4 separate regions of the Homo sapiens genome follow, and regions 1, 3 and 4 are each linked to region 2. Evidence: promoter capture Hi-C in human tissues and cell types (Jung and others, 2019). All regions are on one chromosome and are shown on one strand. Each heading gives the region's core, a stretch centred on a gene start or on the middle of the fragment in contact. The rest is flanking DNA. Distances are from core to core; before and after follow the strand shown. Region 1 overlaps RBPJL (recombination signal binding protein for immunoglobulin kappa J region like). Region 2 holds the start of SPINT3 (serine peptidase inhibitor, Kunitz type 3). Region 3 holds the start of SPINT4 (serine peptidase inhibitor, Kunitz type 4). Region 4 has its middle 9.7 kb from the start of WFDC11.

Evidence for each region. The method cuts DNA at HindIII sites, captures the fragments that hold promoters and counts their contacts. A contact is called where the count stands out against the background at its distance.
Region 1: a contact is called between a fragment that was not itself captured here and the fragment with the promoter of SPINT3 in region 2, in 4 of the 25 tissues and cell types used here (bladder, heart left ventricle, mesendoderm cells and 1 more).
Region 3: the fragment with the promoter of SPINT4 here is called in contact with the fragment with the promoter of SPINT3 in region 2 in 2 of the 25 tissues and cell types used here (bladder and stomach).
Region 4: a contact is called between a fragment that was not itself captured here and the fragment with the promoter of SPINT3 in region 2, in 7 of the 25 tissues and cell types used here (adrenal gland, dorsolateral prefrontal cortex, mesenchymal stem cells and 4 more).

What each region holds. Positions count from the first base shown.
Region 1 is chr20:45,313,006-45,316,145 of GRCh38, reverse strand. RBPJL (recombination signal binding protein for immunoglobulin kappa J region like) reads right to left here. Exons shown (of 12, transcript NM_014276.4): 7 at 2,541-2,678; 8 at 2,002-2,111; 9 at 1,581-1,733. Among named protein-coding and RNA genes, the nearest start is that of MATN4, 6.3 kb to the right of the region's middle. The HindIII fragment of the contact is 3,231 bases long and covers 67-3,140 here.
Region 2 is chr20:45,514,219-45,516,959 of GRCh38, reverse strand. It overlaps SPINT3 (serine peptidase inhibitor, Kunitz type 3), which reads left to right and starts at 1,338. Exons shown (of 2, transcript NM_006652.2): 1 at 1,338-1,427. The coding sequence starts at 1,352. The region is part of intron 1 of LOC107987282 (a long non-coding RNA gene); the gene reads right to left. The HindIII fragment of the contact is 13,872 bases long and covers 1-2,741 here.
Region 3 is chr20:45,721,027-45,723,726 of GRCh38, reverse strand. It overlaps SPINT4 (serine peptidase inhibitor, Kunitz type 4), which reads right to left and starts at 1,380. Exons shown (of 3, transcript NM_178455.3): 1 at 1,245-1,380. The coding sequence starts at 1,359. The HindIII fragment of the contact is 7,531 bases long and covers 1-2,700 here.
Region 4 is chr20:45,678,607-45,681,306 of GRCh38, reverse strand. No RefSeq gene overlaps it. Among named protein-coding and RNA genes, the nearest start is that of WFDC11, 9.7 kb to the right of the region's middle. The HindIII fragment of the contact is 5,827 bases long and covers 1-2,700 here.

The sequences.
Region 1 (3,140 bases), core at 433-2,932, 200 kb after region 2:
GTGGCCACCAGTGTAGGGAGCCAGCATGGCGCGTGGGCTTCTGCGTTAGACCGAACTGGATACTAATCCTAGGCTCTGGGGTTCACTTGTCCCCTCAGCTTGGACAGTGCCCTTAAGTTCTCTCACTTAGCGTTAAGAAAGCTTGTTGAGCTAGCTGATTTCTTCTTTCTTCTTTCTTCTTTCTTTTTTCTTTATTTTCCTTCCTTCCTTCCTTTTCTTTTTCTTTCCCTTTCTCTCTCTTTTTTCCTTTCTTTCTTTTTCTTTCTTTCCTTCCTTCCTTTTCTTTCTTTCCCTTTCTCTTTTTCTTTTCTTTCTCTTTCTTTTCTTTCTTTCTTTCTTTTTCTTTCTCTCTCTCTCTTTCTCTCTTCTTCCTTCCTTCCTTCCTTTCTTCCTTTTTTTTTTTTTGAGACTGAATCTCGCTCTGTCGCCCAGGCTGGAGTGCAATGGCCTGATCTTGGCTCATTGCAACCTCCGCCTCCCGGGTTCAAATGATTCTCCTGCCTCAGGCGCCCGGGTAGCTGGGATTACAGGTGCCAGCCACCACGCCCAAATAATTTTTTTGTATTTTTAGTAGAGACAGGGTTTCACCATGTTGGCCAGGCTGGTCTCAAACTCCTGGCCTCGTGATCCTCCTGCCTCAGCCTCCCAAAGTATTGTGACTACAGGCATGAGCCATTGGCCCGGCCTGGGATAGCTGATTTCTAAGGGTCTTTTTTCTTGGGATTCCAGAATTTTTTTTTTTTTAACATTGTGCAATTCTATGCTCTAATAATCTACAATTTTAATATTCTTTGGGAAGGAATATTCTTGGGGAAGGAATAATACTTGCTATTTTCCACATATTATAATTCTATCTCGTAACATTCTATGATAATATTCTTTTGGGAGTACTACTGCTTAACGATAATTATTATTTTCCACATTCTATAATTTTCCACATTCTGTGTCTTTATCTGTGCTTCGAATAGTCTTTGCTCATTAATTCTCTGCTCTCTATTACCTATCATGATTTTTATTTACATCCTACAATTTTATATCCCAATTTATTTACTTACTTTTTTTGAGATGGAGTCTTGCTCTTGTCACCCAGGCTGGAGTGCAATGGTGTGATCCTGGCTCACTGCAACCTCCACCTCTCAGGTTCAAGCAATTCTCCTGCCTCAGCCTCCTGAGTAGCTGAGATTACAGGCGCCCACTGCCATGCCCAGCTAATTTTTGTATTTTTAGTAGAGATGGGATTTCACCATGTTGGCCAGTCTAGTCTCGAACTCCTGACCTCAGGTGTTCTGCCCACCTCAGCCTCGCAAAGTGCTGGGATTACAGGCATGAGCCACCGCACCTGGCTATATCCCAATATTTTATGACTCTAAAATTCTTTGGGAAGGAATATTGCTTCATACTATTACTTATTACTATTTTTCTACATCCTATGATTCTGTCCTGGGAGTCTATGATTTTAATGTTCCATGGGAGGCTGCTCAGGAAGTAGCAACCATGGTGAGGGTGATGATCTTACATTCTGTGGTTCTCTGCATTCTCCCTTTCCAGGACACTTGGTGCTGGTATTCTCTGCTTCTTACCTGAAATTGCACCACCTTCTCTGTGGCAAGGCATAAGTAGGTGCCACCCCCTCCTGGGGGACTGCCTGGAAACTGGAATGCACACTTGTGCAGCTGGGAGATGGGCTCATCCACATCAAGGAGCGCACACTGTTTTGCTACTTTACGGATGATCTGCAATGGAAGGATGGTAAGAACAGTGGTGGCAAGGAGCCCGGGCGTCCAGAGGCTGCCCTCCTAGCCGGCTGTCTGCTACTCCAATAGCCACACAGGCACTAGCAGATTCCCCCTGCCCTTTGACTTCTGTCTGGTCCTACGCGACACTGGGTGAGAACAGGTGTCTCCATGCCTTGGGGCCTCACTCTCCAGCCCTGCCCGTGTGTGCCACATTCTCTGCATGGATCTGAGGGGACCCCTCCAGGCATGCCCTCCCTTCCTATACCATGGGAGGTAGTGTGATGCCGGTGACCGTGCAGACGAGCTGCACCAGGGAGCCATAGCGAACGTAGCCCTCTCGCGGTGGGAAGTCTCCTTGGGCAGAGTGCCCATCAGCTGGGGGACAAAAAAAGCAAGGGACAAGGTTTTCAGCGGCCCCCAAGCTTCTGCCTTAAACCCTGCCTTGTTGCCTCTGGCTCTTCCTCACATCACACATGGGCCCTGCGGGAAAGCTTGGTACTCAGGGGAGCCAACTGAAGGTTCTAATTCTGGAGAGGCCATTTGAGGCCATCCTCACAAATGTCTGCCCTGGGGGCAGGGGTTGGGGGCAGGCAGCTTAGTTGATATATGGGGAAAGGGCATGGATAAGGGAGTCAGAATAGCTTGGAACAGTCACCAGCTCACTGGGACTGTAGTCAAGTCTTTTTGTGTTTCTGAGCCTTAATCACATGGGGCAGAGTTTACCTTCCTTAAGGAGTTGTGGTGGAGGTTAAATAAGCTAATGCATGTGAAGTGCCCAGCTCCAGGGCCTGCAGATGTCATTACCCAGGTGGAGCGTGAAGGCAGCCCACTGTCGTGCACTGGCCACAAAGGCCCCATCCTCCACAGAGAGGTAGCGTGTGGAGACCGTCTGAGAGCGCAGGCGGTTGAAGAGGGAGACCTTTGAGCCGGAGGATATGCACACTGTGAGGGTGAGGGTCAGGGTTAGGGTGAGGGTGAGGGTCAGGGTTAGGGTGAGGGGATAGGGTTAGGGTTAGGATTGGGGTTAGGGTTAGGGTGAGGGTTAGGGTGAGGGTGAGGGTTAGGATTAGGGTGAGGGTTAGAGTGAGGGTGAGGGTAAGGATTAGGATTAGGGTGAGGGTTAGGGTGAGGGAGGGGGTCAGGGTGAGGGTTAAGGTTAGTTGGTGCTATCAGTGCCCTGTCCTGGCTTGGTTCCTTGGACTTTCCAGACAGTTTCCAATCTTCTGTCCCTGTGCCGGCCTGGCTAATGTGCCCACAGGCCTAGATACACTGGGCATTCCCAGTTCACAGCTGTTTTTCCAGGACCTGCTGCAGTCCTGCTTTGGAACCTTTGCCTGTTCCTTTGCTGTCTGGACATCTTTCAGTTCAACAAACAAAAGTAAAACTTTTTTTTTTTTTTTTTGA
Region 2 (2,741 bases), core at 89-2,588:
TATATATATATACACACATATATTTCAAAACATCATATTGTACCTCATAAATATATAATGTTTCTCAACTTATGATGAGATTATAGCCTAATAAACCTAGCCTAAGTTGAAGATATCAGAAGTTGAAATGCATTTAATACACCTAACCTACCAAACATCATAGCTTAGCCTTACCTACCTTAAACTTGCTCAGAACACTTATACTAGTCTACAGTTGGGCAAAATCATCTAACACAAAGCCCCTTTTATAATGAAGTGTTGAATATCTAATGTAATTTATTGAATACTGTTCTAAAAGTGAACACAGAATGGTTGTATGGGTATTCCAAGTACTGTTTTTACTGACTGTGCATTGTGTTTGCACCATCATAAAGTCAAACACTGTAAGTCAAACCATTGTAAATTGGGGACTGCCTTTATACAATTTTTATTTCTCAATTAAAAATAAATAATAATAAATATATGATAGAATGCTTCTTGAAAAAGAATAGCTGGACCCATCACAACCTCAAATTTTAAATCTGAGGCTCACTAAATCTCCCTAAAGCATGCTGGCTTTGTCTTTCAAAAAAAATGGATCTCTAGAGAGTCAAGGAAAGGAGACAGTTGGAATGTGCTGGATTCTGGGGGTGTGTCTCTAGAGACCATGACCCTCTGAAGCAAACAAAGCTGGGCCCTCCTTCTACATGGTGCTTTTGATATTTCTATTAAAATATAATGAATCTGCTCCTCCTCCAAGTAGGTGACTGTTTCTGACTTCCAATGTGTTTGTGTGTGTTGTTGCCATAATTTCCTGGGAGCACCCAGATGGGATGGAGGCAGCATCTAATACTTTGCCTGGTGCAGTGTGGGTACTTGATGAATGTTTGTTGAATGAATGAGTGATACGAGGGCACTGAAGCAGACAGACCGGGGTCTCAGTCTTGTCTCTGAAACTTGCTGTCCATGTAACAATGGTCAAAGTAGCATAACCTCCTCTCATCTACAAAATGGGAGTGTTAGTGTTGTGGGATTCCCGTGTAGACTTAAGGGAAGCAATGTGTGAAAACTATTTTGCATGGTGCCTGGAAAAGGAAAGGTACTCAAAAATGGCTGCTGTCTTTTTATTATTGTGAAAAAGGCTTCCACCCTGAAGTGGTACTAAAGTAGCCTGGGTGGCCAGATCAGATAAGGCCAGGAGGAGAGAGGTGAAGCTGTGCTTTGGCTGAACACTCTGTTCCTGAGGCAGCCCAGCCCCATGAAAAGCCTGAGTTAAAGGTGAATGAGCTGGATGTGGGGCCAGGCTCCTCCCCTTGGTCCCTTTTCTCCCTAAAATGGCAACCCCAGGCTGAGCCACTGGCTGAGTGGCACCATGCAGCTTCAGGCCTCTCTCTCGTTTCTCCTGATTCTCACTCTCTGCCTAGAGCTTCGATCAGAACTAGCACGAGGTTGGTATGAAATGTGGGATCTCAAAGAATAGACTGGGAATCAGGCTGGGGGGCGGGGTGGTGGGGGAGGTGATGCAGCACAAACAGAGCCCATTTCTTACCTTACCGGATTGAGAGTCAATTCAGTTCAATTCACTTCATCAGACATATGTTGGGCACATAGTTATGTGCCAGGCACTGTCCTAGGTGCTGAGGTTAAAGCAAAGAGCCTGAGACCCTGCCTTTGTGAAATTAAGATGCTAATGGGAGAGAGACATACAATACCTAATACAAATGATAGATGATCAAAGTGCTATAGAAAATGAAATAAGTAAAGCAGGAAAAGGGGCCTTCAATGTCTGGGGTGGGGCTGGTGGCAGGCAAGGAGAGGTTGGGAAAAGGAGATCAGAGCCAGAATTTGAGAGTGAGGGACTTAGCCAAGTTAGATGCACTTGTCAGAAAAGGCTCCTTCCTGGACCACTTTCTCTGTGGAAGCTTGGAATCTGCAAATGGAAGTGGGGAGATGAAGTGCAGTTATAGCTAAGATAATCTGCTGGAAATGGGGATGGTAGGCAGCAGTTTCCAAGATTTTTAAGCAGCCAGTAGGATGCCCTGTATAAAAATGCATATTAGAATACACAAAAGGGTAAGAAAGAAGGTGAAAAATTATCAAAATCTTACCCTCTGGAGATTATCACTGTCAATGTGCCAGTGAACATTCTTGCATGTGCAAGCATAGTTCTCTGCATGTATGTACATGGAGCTATTAATGATAGATTCTTAGACATAAATGGAACTCTAAACCTCCCAATAACCTTATAGATGAGTGGTTCTCGAGTTTGTCCCCTAGTCTGACAGCAATAGCAGCAGCAGTATCAACTGGAAACATGCTAGTTCCCAGTCCCACCTGATCAGAAACTGTGGAGGTGGGTCTCTCTAACAAGCCTTCTAGATGATTCTGACGCATACTCAAGTTTGAAAATGTCTGCCATAAGTAAGAAGAATGTAGTGGTTTACAGTATGAGCATTCCTGGAGTCAGACACACCTGGGTTCTGGTCCAGGCTCCTCTACTTACAAACTCTGTGCCTCAGGAACATCATTTATAGCCTCTCTGAGCATCAGTTTCTTCTTCTATAAAAAAAGATTAACCATCTTTTCTGCTTTATTAATCAAATAGTCTGATGTATGTCAAGCTCTCAGTATAACTTAGCTCTTAATAGATTCTTGTAAAGCACTTAGAACAGCTTCTGTCACACTCAAAACACACACACAGGGTGTCATTATCTACTTTACATAAAAAAGAAGCAAGTCAAGTGATTTTCCTTTGGTTTAAT
Region 3 (2,700 bases), core at 131-2,630, 210 kb before region 2:
TTGCTTGGAAATGTTGCCCTTGCACAATGCAAATTGGTTAAAATTCCAGGTTGTTGTCGTGAGCAGTGTATTGGAGAAGGAGAAGTAGTGATCAGTGAAAAAGGAGGTTCCACCACTAGCTTGTGCAGGGCGATGAGCTTCCCTACATTTCCTATCTTACAGTTTATTAAAGTACAGTATCCTCCTGCTTCCCCACATCATCTTCCTTTCCTTTTAATTGCCCACATAGGACATGCAATTCAGAGTGCCTCCTCCCCAGTTTCATACATTCACTATACTACCTATACTTCAAAATTTAAGTAACCATGGCTGCTGCTATCTTTAAAGCAGGATGCATACTAAAATGCTAAAATGCATAACCTTGGGGTGATGCTCGTTCATCCTCATACCCCGTCATCTTCTCCTTTCTTGCCTTCTCAGAGGCAAACCCTCTGTTTTTATTGTTAAGAGTTGGGTAGTAAGTGGTTGGAACAGCCACAATCATGGTTGTATTGACAATCCACCTTACTCAAGCAGCCAGCCTGGAATTTACTCTCTGGTAAAGTTATGTGCATAATCTTATTTCATACTCACAAACACCCTCTGCAGCAGGCACTTTTCTGATCTTCATTTTACACATGGGGAAACTGAGACTAAGAGAATAATAAGTGGTTGAGTGACTTGTCCAAGGGCACATATCTGCTAAGTGAACAGGTCCAGAACTTGAAGTGTCTGACTTACGGTATAAACTGTGCTACTTTCTCGTCCCCTGGAAGCGCTGAGCCTTCACACACTATCTATGGAAGAAAGTCTCATTGCCTCTCACATTTACATTGTGAGCTCCTCTAAACAGGAATCATCTGTCCAAGAGTTCTGTATATGTCCATAGCCCAGATACTGAAAATGTCTTAATTTGCTCTGTCTCCAACCCCCTTTCTCTCTCATCCCAATACATAATCATCAATGGTCTGGGATCTTTGAAATTTGTCACACAACCTCTGATTCAAAATACTTCCAGTCCTTTGGACCTCCTATAAAAGAGGTCTCCATCTGGAAAGGACTTTGTGTCATTTCTGTTTTTTCTCATCAAACATCCAGAGGACCCCTAGTGTAAGTAATGCCCTGAGTCAAGGGACTAAGTGTCTATGGGTATTGTCATGAAAGGAAGACCTTCCTGGACTACCTAGATAACACACTTTTCTCCCAATACCTTCTCTCTCATTCATAATTGACCTTTGGATTTATTTTCTGCCTTAGCTTCATACCTTTGAGGTCTCCACATATCTTCTCCGCAATTTTATTAACACCACCCAATAACAGGGTATTCAATGAGCAGAAGATGAAGAATCTTAGAAGAAATCCCAGCTTGGCAGACTTCATGGTGCAGCAAGCAGCAGGCAGGATAGTTGTGGTATCACCTGATGTTATATTTTGGGCTTGATACTTGAGACGGTTGAGCTCACCTACCCCAAGGGCCAGGACTGGACATTACTAGGTGTTGAGTTGAACAGTGAGTGCTTGGGTACCCAGCCATGAAGCTGAAGGCCCCAAACTGATTAGACCCTTGATAGTGAGTCCCATGTTCATCTAGAAGCAATAGAAACTTAAGGATCAGAGCTTCTGCATATATTTAATCATGAAGGGTAGAATCATCAGAGTGAGGAATTAAAAAGGGATTTCTTCCTTTCTCTTTTTGACCTTTTATGCACAGAAGAAACTAATCATGGCACAAGAGAAAGAGTGCAATAGCACTATAATAATAGTAACAGGGTTAGTTATAACCTAGAGTACTACTTAATTCCAGGTGCTATTTTTAAGTAATTTGTATATACTTTATCATCATATACACCCTATGAAGTAAGTACAGTTATTACCATCATTTAAGGATGAAATGGAGACAGAGATTAGGTTACATGTACAAGGTCACTCATTTATTATGTGGTAGAGACAAGATTTGAACTTGGCTTCAGAGTTTTTGTTCTTAGTCACACTACACTATGTTATCTAGGAACATGAGGACATCTTGGATCTGTTTTCTCCTAAAAGTTTTGAAGTTTTGGCTTACCTTTACACCCTAAAACCACCTGATGTTGATTTTTTGGTAAGGTATAACATAAGGATCCTTTTTCATTTTTCAGTGGTTCCAGACCTATTTATTAATGAGTTCCTCTTCTATTTAACTGCAAAATAATTTTGCTTAATTATGTGGGATTGCTTCTGAGCCCTTTATTTCACTCCACTGTATACCCCCACTCCAAAGCCACACTTAATCTCTTGAACTTTGTTTATCTTAGGATTTTGTATTTTCATATAAATTTTAGTCAGTTTATCAAGTTATTCAAAAGACCTGTTTCGGGCCAGGCGTGGTGGCTCATGCCTGTAATCCCAGCACTTTGGGAGGCTGAGGTGGGTGAATCCCATGAGGTCAGGAGTTGGAGACCAGCCTGGTCAACATGGCAAAACCCCGTCTCTACTAAAAATACAAAAATTAGCTGGTTATGGTGGTGAGTTCCTGTAATCTCAGCTACTTGGGAGGCTGCGGCATGAGAATTGCTTGAACTGGGAGGCAGAGGTTGTAGTGAGCTGAGACTGTGCCATTGCACTCCAGCCTGGGTGACAGAGCAAGACTCTGACCGAAAACGAAAACAAAAACAAAAACAAAAACAAAACACCTATTTTGGATATTCATTTGAATTGCACTGGATCTACAAATCAATTGGA
Region 4 (2,700 bases), core at 104-2,603, 160 kb before region 2:
CAGAGTCTCACTCTGCCACCCAGACTGGAGTGCAATGGCATAATCTTGGCTCACTGCAACCTCCACCTCCCGGGTTCAAGCGGTTCTCCTGTCTCAGCCTCCCAAGTAGCTGGGACTACAGGCATGCACCACCACATCTGGCTAATGTTCTGTATTTTTAGTGGAGACAGCGTTTCACCATGTTGGCCAGGCTGGTCTTGAACTCCTGACCTCAAGTGACCCACCCACTTCAGCCTCCCAAAGTACTGGGATTACAGGCTGAGCCATTGCACCCAGCCAAAAAGGTGGTTTTAAATGGACATAATAACACTGCCAGGGTCTACATCTCCTGGGAGCAGTGTAGAAAAGGGACTAGAATGCTGAGCTCCCATTTTCTCTTTGCAAGGGGTTTCCTGCTTACTCTATTGGTGGCTACTTGATGACCTTGCTTTTAATGAATTTGCATTGAGGACCTAAGGGGAGAAAGTAGCTCCCTGTCATCCTGAGCTTGAGCTGAGCACTTTCTGAGCCTTTCCTTTGGCTCATCCCAGTGATAAATCCAGTCGACCCATTCTTCCTGGAAGGAGTTTGTCCGTGTACTGAGTACCTAAGCTTCTATAGTTTCCACCCAAGGGACTGTCTCCTTATCAACCTAGCTCTGGGGACTAATGGGGCTTTGCATTCCCAATGAGACTTTGCATTCCTAAGCGGCCTGGGACTACAGAAAACAAAGACATGGGCATACAACGGGCCCACTTTCAGCATGTATTAGTCCATTCTCTCATTGCTATAAATAAATACTCAAGATTGCATAATTTATAAAGAAAAGAGGTTTAATTGGCTCATGGTTCTATGGGCTATACAGGAAGCATGGCACTATCTGCTTCTGAGGAGGCCTCAGGAGCTTTTACTCATGGCAGAAGACAAAGCCAGAGCAGGCATCTTCACATGGCTGGAGGAGGAGCGGGGTGAGGGATGTACTATATACTTTTAAACAACCACATCTCACTCACTATCATGAGAACAGCACCAAAGAGATGATGTTAAACCATTCATGAAGGATTTACCCCCGTGATCCAATCACCTCTCACCAGGTCCACCGCCAACATTGGGGATTACAACTTGACATGAGATTTGGATGGGGACACAGATTCTAACCATATCAAGCAGCTATCTCACCAGGATCAGAGGGTGCAGTTTGGACACAAGTATAGGCATTTGTCACAGATTATCTCTCCAGCTTAGTGCAGAGAGAGGGAGAGATAAATACTGGCATTCACCTTCACCATAGGATGGAAGAAACCAGAATACTCACCACCCTCCCCCTGCCATACATGCAAAAAGACAGAGAAAGTTTTAAAAACAGTGAGGAAATAGTGAATTGCTACACACAAGAGAACCCTCCCTTAGATTATCAGCAGATTTCTCAGCAGAAACTTTGTAGGCCAGAAGGGGGTGGGATGTTATATTAAAAATCCTGAATAAAACAACCCTGTCAACCAAGAATACTATACCCAGAAATCTTTTCTTTCAAAAATGAAGGGGTGATAAAGACTTTCTCAGACAAACAGAAGCTGAGAGAGTTTATTACTACTAGACTTGCCTTACAAGAAGTGCTAAAGAGAGTTCTTCAAGCTGAAGAAGAGGACACTAATTAGTGACTGGAAAACATATGAAAGTATAACATTCACTGATAAAAGTAAATACATTGTGAAATCCAAAATACTCTGATACTGTAATGTCAGTGGGTAAATAAATTATATCTTTAATAACATTAAAAGGCAAAGCTATTAAAAACAATGAAACCTACAATAATTTGTCAAGGGATACAAATTATAAAAAGATGCAGATTGTGATATCAAAAACTTAAGACAAATTTTCTCTTCTCTGAGGCTAGCTTGACTTCTCTTTGTTCTGCGTTCCACTGTTACCTAAAGAGTGTCCTTAGTGCCTGCCTCACAGCCCAGCACAAGGATATGAGCTGCAGAGAGTGACAATACAAGAAAGGCTACTCTGTGGATATGTCTCTGGTGCAAGAGCTGGTTTGCCCTGTCCTGGAGAATTTTCCCAGGATGGGGAAAGCCATGTGCTTCTTAATCCATCCCTGATACCTCAGGACTAAACTGGGAAGTGATGTCAGCAAGATGGCAGAATAGATCTCCTGGGATCACTTCCTGACACAAAAATAAAATGAAAAACTATTCAAAGACAAGAATGCCACCCTGAATACACCAGAACTTGAGAAGCAGAGAAACCCCCTGGGCTCATAGAATTGAGAGAAGCAGTGACAGGTAAGAGAAATGGTCATTTCAGCCTGTTCCACCCTCTCTCCCAGGCCATAATAATACCACTCACAGAGAACTTCCCTAGACCCACAGTTGCTGAGATGAGAAGAAGGAATTGGAGGTGGATATTTGATCTTCCCACTTGTCTAGGAATCTTAATGGTAAGTCCACTCCAGTTTCATCCCACTAGAGAACCAAGAGGGCTGAAAAACCTGGGGTGAATTGGGGACAAAGAGTAGGTCACTGATTGCAGCAACTGGCATGTGGATCTTGGTGATTGTTCAGTGCTTTGATCAGTGGGGATGCCATATTGAAGAGACTGGTGGGGGGGCCAGAGTATTGTAGGGGACAAAATTTATGGGAAGGCCCAAATCCACAAAGCCCAGGTGCACATGTGAAGCTTTTCCCTGGCCCAGAAACAACTAAAAGGTCAAGA